Linked DNA regions of Homo sapiens: region 1 is linked to region 2. Evidence: promoter capture Hi-C in 16 types of primary human blood cells and fetal thymus (Javierre and others, 2016). All regions are on one chromosome and are shown on one strand. The core of a region is centred on a gene start or on the middle of the fragment in contact, and the rest is flanking DNA. Distances in the headings are between cores, read along the strand shown.

The links. The method cuts DNA at HindIII sites, captures the fragments that hold promoters and counts their contacts. A CHiCAGO score of 5 or more calls a contact.
Region 1: a contact is called between the fragment with the promoter of KRT1 here and the fragment with the promoter of KRT79 in region 2, in 3 of 17 cell types (naive CD4 T cells, naive CD8 T cells and non-activated CD4 T cells). The highest score is 8.8, in naive CD4 T cells.

Annotation. Positions count from the first base shown.
Region 1 is chr12:52,679,103-52,684,588 of GRCh38, reverse strand. It overlaps KRT1 (keratin 1), which reads left to right and starts at 4,182. Exons shown (of 9, transcript NM_006121.4): 1 at 4,182-4,831. The coding sequence starts at 4,241. The HindIII fragment of the contact is 12,025 bases long and covers 3,642-5,486 here.
Region 2 is chr12:52,830,765-52,836,166 of GRCh38, reverse strand. It overlaps KRT79 (keratin 79), which reads left to right and starts at 1,856. Exons shown (of 9, transcript NM_175834.3): 1 at 1,856-2,383; 2 at 4,541-4,761. The coding sequence starts at 1,907. The HindIII fragment of the contact is 16,661 bases long and covers 1-5,402 here.

The sequences.
Region 1 (5,486 bases), core at 2,933-5,432, 150 kb after region 2:
TTTCCCTGTCCCATGTCCCTGGTGGAGTCCCTCAGGGCTGGGTGGCTTGTCACTGCATGTCTTTCTTCACTCTTTTCTTGGTCCCATCCCACAAAAGCTCTCAAAACATCACCACACCTGCTCCTGCCCATGCCCCACAGCCAGCCCCTGGCAGCCTCATCTCAATGATCAGTTCTGGGTTGTGTGTGTGAGTCCTTGGGTGGGGGTGTTTTGGTGCTCTGTCATCCAGCACCGCTGGGGTAACTCTCAAGTATAAGGGGCCATGTGGGATGCTGGGAGGACATCAAAAGACACAGGGGACTTAGTCTTGCTTTCCAAAGGCTTCCAGAGTGATTGAGGGGCCAGGAAACACACAAGCACATGCATGAAAATGAGCCAACAAATGCATCAATATGTACTAAGTCTGGCAGCAGCCGAGCTTGGAAAAAGAGACCAATAGAGCACTTGCCCGATGTGGACTGAGGAAAACTCCCTGGAGGAGATGAGATCTGGACCTGTCTGCTGCCTGCTTGAGCGAGAGATGAAGGCATTTGCCCACAAGCCCTGATGGACCAAAAACAGATTCAGGACCAAATGCTCAGGAATTGAGATCTTTGGTGCCCCAGAGCTTGACTATGGGTAGGGATTTGTGGCAAGTTGCCGAGGCAACCAGAAGACCTTTCAGAAAAGAGAAGAGTAGAAGTGGGCTTGGAAGACAGAGAGGAACAGGGATGGAAAGGGAAGAAGAGGGTTGATCAGTCTGGGCAAAGCACGAGAGTGAAGGGGTCAAGGCGTGAGGCCGGGGGAGTGGGTGAGCAGGGTAAGATGTAGGTGGTGCTGGTGGTGAGAGCAGGCCAATGACAGAAGGAGCCCATGTGATGCGGCGGGCTTGGACTCTGGAGTGAGGCAAGCGTGGCTTGTCAGTTACCTGCTGGATGACTTTGGGCACATATTTCAACCTCTATAAACCTAAGATGCCTTTTCTTTAAAATGGGGCTAAGAGCTCCCACGACGCAGACTTTGTGTGGTATTTAAATGCAATGTGGCTCCTAACAGCATAGTTGCTGCCTGTAGATGTTAGTGTCTCTTTCTTTCTCATTTTGTCTTTATTTCATAAATGCACAGTACATAAGTAAGCCAGGAGAGAGTGTGTGGCTCACACCTTTCCTGCATGTGGTTCTTCATATCCCACACACCCACACTGATCCTGGGGACATCACAGGAGATGACGGGCCTGGTCTGGCAGCACTGCAGCTCCAGCTCTGTTGGGCTGCCTCGAAAGTGGGCAGTGGAAAAAGAAAAGGAGTTTGATTCAACAATTGGAAGAGTCTCAGGAATTGACTTATGACTTGGACACTTTTTTTTTTTTTTTTTTTTTTTTTTACTTTTTTGGGCCTGTGCTCTCACTTCTCTGTGAGGCAGGTTAGATGATGTGACCTTTGAGGCCCCATGGATGAGAACATTCTGTAATTCTCTGTGTACTTGTTTATAGGGCCCAGTTCCACTTGCCTGTCTTTGAGCCTCTTCCCGGTTCAGGGAGGAATGTCACTTGAATTGAAATCAGAAAACCCAGATTCTGCTTCCAGATGTGTCTTTTCCTAGCCGGAGTGTCTAGAGGAAGCCACTTAATCTCTGAGAATCAGTTTTCTGTTTCATGAAATGGGTTGAGAACAGCTTGATTGCCTAGTTCTCAGGGCTCTTGTGGGATGCTCTTTGCATATGTGTTTGGTGGGGTGAGCTGTGCAAATGTAAGCTATGGTGAGGTTTATGGCACTTATTCCTGCTAGTCCTGCATTTCTCCCTTCTCACAGGAGCACCTGGGGTATGTTTTGCAGCTAAGTTGTCTACCAATTCCCTGACCATTCATTCAAACCTTTGATTTTTCTGTATGTCAGTTTCTTAGTTCAAAGATGGGAGTGTGGATCACTGCCAAGGTCTGTTTTTGGCTGGCACACACATGCACACAAACATGTGTGCACACAAACATGTGTGCACACACATACTCACACCCCTCCAAAATGCTAGAAGGAATCGATTGTGCAGAACAATATGTCTCATGAGGGAGTATGCTGAACTAAAATAATTTTGATTGCTTGTCAGAAAATGATTAGGCAACAGTCATTACCATGCCAAGACTGTCCCAGTCTCCATTGTTCCTAACAAGACCTGAATTACTCATTCCCTAAAGAGATGGTTGGTTTAGCAGCCGAAGGATTTTAGTGCTAGGACAGAGTCCCAGACAGCAGTGCCACAGTGATGGCGAGGGAGAGGAGTAGCAGGGGAGCGGTGAGGGGCACTTTCTGGAGGAGGGTATAGGGCAAAAACTGGGAGGAGAAGAGGGACAAGGTTCAATAGCGGAGTGCAATGGAGAGGACCGACACAGCCAGCCCGATTCAGAGCCACAGAGTAATGGGACCAGATGATCTTCACAGACTCCCTTTCTCCCATAGATCTTGCACACCATAGTGGAGACTTCCCATGTACATCTATGGTTTGCCACTTACAGAGTTACTTGGAGCCAGCTGAAGTTAGAGCTGGCTTCTCCCCTTTGAGTCTTCAATTCTGTGTTTATGTGCAGGCCCGGGGACCATGCCAGGCTTCTAAGAAGTCTTCGAATGAAAGTCTGCTTGGGCTTCTAGTGTGTCCAGATCTCAGTGCCACTATTATCCACTGATATTGATCAAGTGCTGCTCTCCAGGAAGACCCCTGAGGTTTCCTGGTCCATTGCAATGCATGCTGGGTACTCTTGCACTTGGATGGAAGTAAAATCTCCTCACTAAACTCTGTGCCACCAAAATCTCCTTCTCAGTGTGAATTGAAGAAACATTTTCCAAGACTTGCATGTGCCAGGAGCCAAGGACTCAGAGTGATAAAACAGGCCTTCTGCCCTCAGAGCTCTCTGTGGTGGGGCGCTTCCTGTGCTGTCTGGCTTTACACACAGCAGGCAGAATGACTTGAATTCGGCTGCTGTGCTGTCGTACAACATGCTGTTTAGGATCTTGCACATGATAGCTAGGTATTCTTGCTTCAAATCGCAGGCACCCCACTTACCAACTGTGTAGACTTGATCACGTTATTCAACCCCTGTGTCTCTGCTTCCTCATTTTACAAATGGGGAGAAAAATAGCATCTATCTCAAAGTTGTGAAAATTAAGCAAGTTAATACATATGTGCTACGTAGAACAGTGCCTGGTACATGGTCAGTTTTTGATACATGTTAGGTATTATCATTATTATCACCTCCAGAAACAATTTAAACTTCTCATATAAGGCTCTCCAGACACCTCTCATTGTCTTCCCTTCCAAATCTGCATTTATCTCTCTCTCTTTGCAGTCCAGTGTGAGGCTTGAATCACCTATCAAGCCTCACCTCCACCCCTGTGCTTTACAAAATGTCCTAGAGCTTCTATTTACTCGTCTCACTGCTCTGTGGGCTTTTTCACTCAAGGGCGTTTGCATGCTATCCATTGCTACCTGTTTTCTATTGCTGGTGTCTGTCTCCTGCTCTATCTTTGAAGAAAAGAAACAAGAAAAGGAATAACTGAGAAACAGAGAAAAAAAATGTCTCTCCCTTCTGGTTCTTCCAGACCACCCACTCATCCATCTTGTTCAATGACAGCTTCTCTTCCTTTAATTAATCACTGTGGTATATTTATAAAGCTTATATTTATGAAAGACCTTTTAATTTTTTAGTTATTAAAGCCCTTTCTCTTTGTCAGGTTGTAACTGAGTGAGCTCTGGAGTTTGGAAAGAAGATCTTAGAAATGGGCCAGAGAGCTCCTTCTGAGATCCAAGCACGGGGAATTGCACCTGCTGTGCATGGTAAGAGAGTGTGCTTGGTAGCTCACAAAGGCAAGGTGAGAATAGAAACTTTCATGCCTTTTTGATGGGGGTTATGAAATCCTACCAAGAAACACCAGGTATCAGATGTGGGGTCCTGTTTTCCCAAAGCCACAAATGCTTGAAGGAAGATCTTGTGTGATAAAATAATTACCACATGAACCAATCTTGCATGCACAGCAATTTTGAGAGCCCATCCTGGGAGCTAGGTGTGTAGTGTTTATCGTATTGTTGAGGCTCGTAAAAATCTTGTATGGCTGCAGGCAAGCCAAACCCTTGACAGGCACTGCATCTCCGCTGACTCTAGAAGACCAAGCCCAATTTCTTCCCTGTATATAAGGGGAAGTCTCTATGCTTGGGGTAGAGGAGTGTTTAGCTCCTTCCCTTACTCTACCTTGCTCCTACTTTTCTCTAAGTCAACATGAGTCGACAGTTTAGTTCCAGGTCTGGGTACCGAAGTGGAGGGGGCTTCAGCTCTGGCTCTGCTGGGATCATCAACTACCAGCGCAGGACCACCAGCAGCTCCACACGCCGCAGTGGAGGAGGTGGTGGGAGATTTTCAAGCTGTGGTGGTGGTGGTGGTAGCTTTGGTGCTGGTGGTGGATTTGGAAGTCGGAGTCTTGTTAACCTTGGTGGCAGTAAAAGCATCTCCATAAGTGTGGCTAGAGGAGGTGGACGTGGTAGTGGCTTTGGTGGTGGTTATGGTGGTGGTGGCTTTGGTGGTGGTGGCTTTGGTGGTGGTGGCTTTGGTGGAGGTGGCATTGGGGGTGGTGGCTTTGGTGGTTTTGGCAGTGGTGGTGGTGGTTTTGGTGGAGGTGGCTTTGGGGGTGGTGGATATGGGGGTGGTTATGGTCCTGTCTGCCCTCCTGGTGGCATACAAGAAGTCACTATCAACCAGAGCCTTCTTCAGCCCCTCAATGTGGAGATTGACCCTGAGATCCAAAAGGTGAAGTCTCGAGAAAGGGAGCAAATCAAGTCACTCAACAACCAATTTGCCTCCTTCATTGACAAGGTGAGTTTCTCTCTCATTGCACTGGTAGGGCTGCCGCTGGTCCACTTGGGATTGGTGCAGTCAAAACACAGTAGGTTTGAACCTCAAGTTTCCATGTTTACATGATTAAAAGGATGTTTTGTGGAATGGTCTCCTAGGAGATATGTTAGATGTATGCTTGTGAATGGTGTTAATGACTCTCTCTTTGACAAAGGGTTCGTGGTCGACCTAAAGGTGGGTCAGTGTGACATTAACATTTAAGTGCTTTTTATTCAGCTCTTGAGCGGAATTGGGACTCATATCTGTTGAATGAAGATAATAGAAATGGGGCTAACTGAACTTTCCAGGGTGCAAGTGAGAACCCTGGAAAGGTCTTCCTAACCATAGAAAGGGAGTTGAGTGTGAACATAGTATAGAGTGTTATTGTAGCAGAAAACATGTGGTCAGTCAGTGCCAAACATCTTTTGCTGTCAGAGGGGAGCTCTGCCTTCTAATAATTTTACATTGGTACTGGATGAGGCTAGAGTTTTTTTATACTAATATCTCCAAAAATCAGCTCTAAAAAACTCAGATAAACCATTTTTTTAATTTTTTGCTTAATCATTAATAGTGCCAATCCAAGGTTATCCACAACAAATTTCAAATCCAATTTTGAATTTTCCTGATATACTTTTGA
Region 2 (5,402 bases), core at 607-3,106:
CAACACTTCCTTGCCCAGGGGGCCCACAGCCACATCCTGGAGGCTAGGGCCCACTCATGACTGTTTCCTCCTCCCACGCCACCCAGGGAGAGATAAGGGAGGCTGAGAAAGTGATCTCAGCCTGGGGAAAGGAGACGAAGGTCAGTGGGAAGGGGCGGCTTCATCCAGGGATCACTTTTCGAAAGGTCTTCCACGGAGGGCCCTGCTTATAGGCAGAGAAAATGGGGCTCAGAGAAGTTGCGAGTTGCCCCAGGACACACAGCTCAGTGTGGGAGACGTCTCGGCTTGGCTCCCTGAAATGCCCAGTGTCCTAACTCCAAAATCTCCTCTTGGCTATTAAGGGACTAGTTCTGCAAGTGCTCTCACTCCCATTCCTTGTGGGAGCTGGGTTCAACCTCTTCAAGCAACGGGGAGCCACTTACAGCCTCCCAGGGGCCCTAGGAGAAGATCCCACAGCTCCCTCTGGTCCTGGAGCAGGCTGTCTCTTCACTTGCTGGGCTGTGGGGAACATGGGAGGGAGGCCAAGCCTTCTCCGTGGCAGTCCCATGTCCTCTCTGTTGGGATCCTGGGGACACAGCCTGGCTGGTTGTCCTGCTCATCTGATGGGGGTGGGGAGCACAGCGATGCTGTCCTCGCTCCTTTTTTTCAGGCAAGTCTCTGTTCACTTTGAGCCCATCTTCTTGCTGAGAGAAGGGGGTGGGGAGGGCCAGTGTCTAAAGTCACCTCCTCAGTCACCCCTCGGCCCTGACAGTTGACGTCTCTGTCTTTGCTTGGGGCTGTGTTTGGTCCCAGCAGACTGAGGTGAATAGGAAGTGGGCGGCGGGGACCATATGAGGTGATTTAAGGAGCTCCCCTGGCCCCTCTGAATCAGAAACATGGGCTCCTGCATGTGGGGCAGGGGAAGATGGGAGTGACGGGGCTGCTGCGTGGGCCTCCTGGGGCTTTTTTGGAACACCTGCTTTTTGGAGCTGTGCCTGTCTCCACCCAGGGTGGTCTGTGTCCTTGACCCACCTCCAGCTCCCTCCAAAGTGGCTGAACCTTTCTGTGGGGACTCTGCTGTGGGGTAGAGGCTCAGGGATCTCAGGTATTGGTTAAATCCCCTGCCCTCTCTTCAGCCTCCATAAGAATGTCCTTTGCTCCCAGGCTTCTGGGCCCTGCCTGAGGACCCCAGGCCTTTTCTACCTCCTGATCAAGGGCCTGGGCCCCACGATTGGGCAGGGATCCTCTTTCTGTCCTTGAATTCACTTTGCCAGCATAGGCTCACTTCCCAGAAGGCTCTGCCACTGTACGGCAGAGGCACAGGCTATCCCCACTCTCGCCCTGTCACCTGTGTCACACACCCTGGACCTGGGAGGAGTGGTGGGCCGTTGGCTGGGGGTGGGATGGGAGCAGGCCTGGATGCTCTCTCTGGCAGCCCATTGCCCAATGCTCCTTCTCCTACCACCTGTACAGCCCCAGGCCCTGCAGCCTTGGCTTACAACAGGGGCCTGGGACAAACCCCGTAGAACAGAGCCCTATTGACAGTGGCCTCTGGGGCTGGGTGGGAGGACAGCAAGCCAGCCACTGGGTGGTGGGGGTGGCCATGGGAGCCCGTATCATCCTGTGCCAACCGAGGAGAGCCTGGGGGCAGGGGGAGAAGGTGGCATCCTGCCCCAGACAGTCTCGGCTCAGCCCCAGCTCTGGAGCACAGGTGATAACCGGGAGGGCCCCTCCCTCCTGCTTGGGGAGAGGGCACTCCCCGTGGCCCTAAGGACCCCTCCCTCTCCCCTTGGGGCGATGGGGCAGGAGTGTCTGTGGAGCTGGGGAGCCGGCCCAGTTGGGAAAAGATAAAAAGCCCACAGTGGCCCAGCAGCTCACGGCACTCCCTTCCTGCCCTCTCATCCTGCCCTCCGGCCCCTCTGCAGCTATGAGGTCCTCCGTCTCTCGGCAAACATACTCCACAAAAGGGGGCTTCAGCTCCAACTCTGCCAGCGGAGGGAGTGGGTCCCAGGCCCGCACCAGCTTCAGCTCAGTGACGGTGTCTCGGAGCAGTGGCAGTGGTGGCGGGGCCCACTGTGGCCCCGGCACAGGTGGCTTTGGCAGCCGAAGCCTCTATAACTTGGGGGGCCACAAGAGTATCTCTGTCAGTGTGGCCGGAGGGGCCTTGTTGGGGCGGGCTCTGGGGGGCTTTGGCTTTGGCAGCAGGGCATTTATGGGACAGGGGGCTGGCAGGCAGACGTTTGGGCCTGCTTGTCCTCCTGGGGGGATCCAGGAGGTCACTGTCAACCAGAGCCTGCTGACCCCCCTCCATGTGGAGATTGACCCCGAGATCCAGCGAGTGCGCACTCAGGAGCGGGAGCAGATCAAGACCCTCAACAACAAGTTCGCCTCCTTCATCGACAAGGTGGGCCAAGCAGGAAGGAGGAAGGGAGCTCTTGGGGAAGAAGCGGGACCTCTAATAGAGGGTGGGCTGGGCCAGGGCTGCTGTAGCCCACTTGTACTAGGGTGGTGGTTGATAGAGCTCTGGAGCTCTCCCGGTCTGAGCCTGGGATGCCGAGACGTGGGTGGCTGGAGGCGGCCTTCAGGTCTTCACCGTGCCTGTGCGGGGGGAGTCTCCAGTCTACTCATGAGTCCGGTTTGCCAAGTCCACCTTGCCCGTGTTGAAGCCTGTCCTACCACCATGATTAATACGATTGATTGCACAGTAGCCTTACCTCATCATCAAAAAATGGATTGTCCTCATAGCTCCTCTTAGTGGGGTGGCCTGCATTGCCTTTTGTCATTTTACAGCTGGGGAAACAATGCTCAGGAGTTGAAAGAGTTGTTCAAGGCTAAGAGCATGGAGCCCTGTTTGTTCCATTCTTTCAGGCTTGGAGGAGGCTTAAGGGCAAGATGTGATCAAAACACAGTTGTGTGTGGGTGGGGTCCTAGGGGTAGGCTCCCTTCCGCTTCTCCTTTTTTTACACTCTGAGTGAAGAAGCTCAATTTGGGGTGGACAATGAGGAGGGTGGTCACCAGGTCACCAAGCTCTGGGAATGTGGAATTTGACCTGTTGCCCATAGGCATGCCCTGAACCTTGCCCTTGCCTCCAGATGGATGGGAGCAACACTTGTGCTGGGATTTCCTGGTCTGTTTCGCTGGCATTGTCCACCTCGATCCTGAGCCAAGGCAGCGGGTCATGATGGGGAAGGTCTGGCAGACAAATGTACCTTGGTTCAGTGATTTGTGTGTTTCCGAAGAACATGCACATCCCTTTTCTCCTGAGGTACCCACAGTGCTTCTATGAAGACTCAGAAATGGTGATATTGTGCCCATTTTTGAGATGAGAAAATTGAGGTCTAGAGAGCTCAAGTGATTTGCCCAGGATGATACAAGGAGTTGGAGGCAGAGGCGGGACTGGGACCCAGGCCCCTGGACTCTGTGGTTCTTGGCACTAAGAGTTGTTACTGCTCACAATAGGCACACCTGCTGCATGATGCTCCCAGGGCATGTGACTGAGGCCCAGGTAGTGTGGAGATGGGACCTGGAGATATTGGATGACAGAATATGAAGCAAGCCGTCTTGCCTGCCTCCTCACCCTCTCCCCTAGTGACTTTTGGTTTTCCTGTGGGACTGTCCCAGAGGCCAAACAAGCCAAAACCTTTCTCAGGATTGCAGAATCACAGCTTGGGAGCTGGAGGTCTGAGAGATTGTCTTGGAACCCCAGCTGGGCCAAGAACTCTCGGGGGTCCTGTTAAACCCACACCGTAAGCCTCCTTCTGAGTCTATAGAGGAAGGGCTCAGACATTGGTACTTTAAAAAAAGTTTTTTTTGGGAAAAAATGTTGAATTTACAGAAAAGTTGCAAGAATAGTACAACATACTCCTGTATACTCTTTCACCCAGTTCACCAATTTTCTTAATTTATTATTATTATTTTTTGAGACAGGGTCTTGCTCTGTTTCCCAGACTGGAGTGCAGTGGTACAGTCATAGCTCACTGCAGCCTCCATCTCTTGGGCTCAAGTGATCCTCCCACTTCAGCCTCCTGAGTAGCTGGGACTACTGGTGCATGCCACTACACCTGGCTAATTGTCTTGATTTTTAGTGGAGACAGTCTTGCTATGTTGCCTAGGCTGGTCTTGAACTCCTGAGCTCAAGCACTCCTCCAGCTTCAGGCTCCCAAAGTGTGTGATTTTAAACAGTTGATTTACATTTTAAACAGATGATTTTAATGCAGAATTAGGGGTCAGAAACATAGATCTAGTCCAGTTTATGCAGGACAAGTGAGAGAGGGAGACTCAGAGAGAAATGATTCGACCAAGGTTACCAACTAGTAAATTGGTACTGCTACTGAGCTGGGCTTTTGTGCTTATTAACTTGGTAGAGTTCTTTCCATCAGATTGGACGGTCGTTTCCAGCAGTCTATTCCCCTAAGGAGTGCCTCCCCACAGCAAAGTGTAGGTGCGGCTGCAGCGTCCCTATGTTGCCCTGGCCTTGGAGGGGAGGTGGCAATGGACCCCATCCTTGGCTCCTCTGGTGACCGGAGGGTGACATCAGCCCACCCTTTCTGCTCTGGCTCAGGTGCGGTTCCTGGAGCAACAGAATAAGGTGCTGGAGACCAAGTGGGCACTGCTGCAGGAGCAGGGCCAGAACTTGGGTGTCACCAGGAACAACCTGGAGCCCCTCTTTGAGGCCTACCTGGGTAGCATGCGGAGCACGCTGGACAGACTTCAGAGCGAGCGGGGGAGGCTGGACTCAGAGCTCAGGAACGTGCAGGACCTTGTGGAGGACTTCAAGAACAAGTGAGGAGAGCAGGCCAGGCGGGGCCATGTGGGAGTGAGGAGGGGCAGTGGGAAACCTGCCAAGAGGGCCACCCCATTCCCAGGGTCCCAGGCCCACCTGGGGGATGCACAGACAGAGCTGGCTCCCTCAGGTGCTCAGGTCCAGCACCTGCTGCCACCTGGAGAATTGGCAGGTTTGTTTGTAATTTAAAAAAGTTTTTAAAGTAGGGGGAATAGTATAATGAACCCCATGTTCCTGTCACCCAGCTTTAATCATTATCAACTCATAACCAATCTTGTTGCATTTTTTACACCTCCCCACTTCCCTTCTTCCCGTGTAGTCTTTTTTTTTTACCTTTGCCTTTTTCTACGTGTTCTGATTCCCTTGTAGTCTTGAAGCAAATCCCAGACATCTTGTCATTTCATTCACTAATATTTTACAAGTTATATTCATATATCTGCATGTGAATGTAGTTCATCTATGACTCAGTAAAACATACAGTGGCATAATCACACCTAAAAAATTTTAAAACAATAATTCCTCAATATCATTAAATATCCAGCCAGTTTTGAATTTCCAGTGACCCCATACATGTCATAAATTTAAAAAATACAGCTTATTTGACTCAAGCTCCAAAGGTTTATATATTATAATTGGTTGA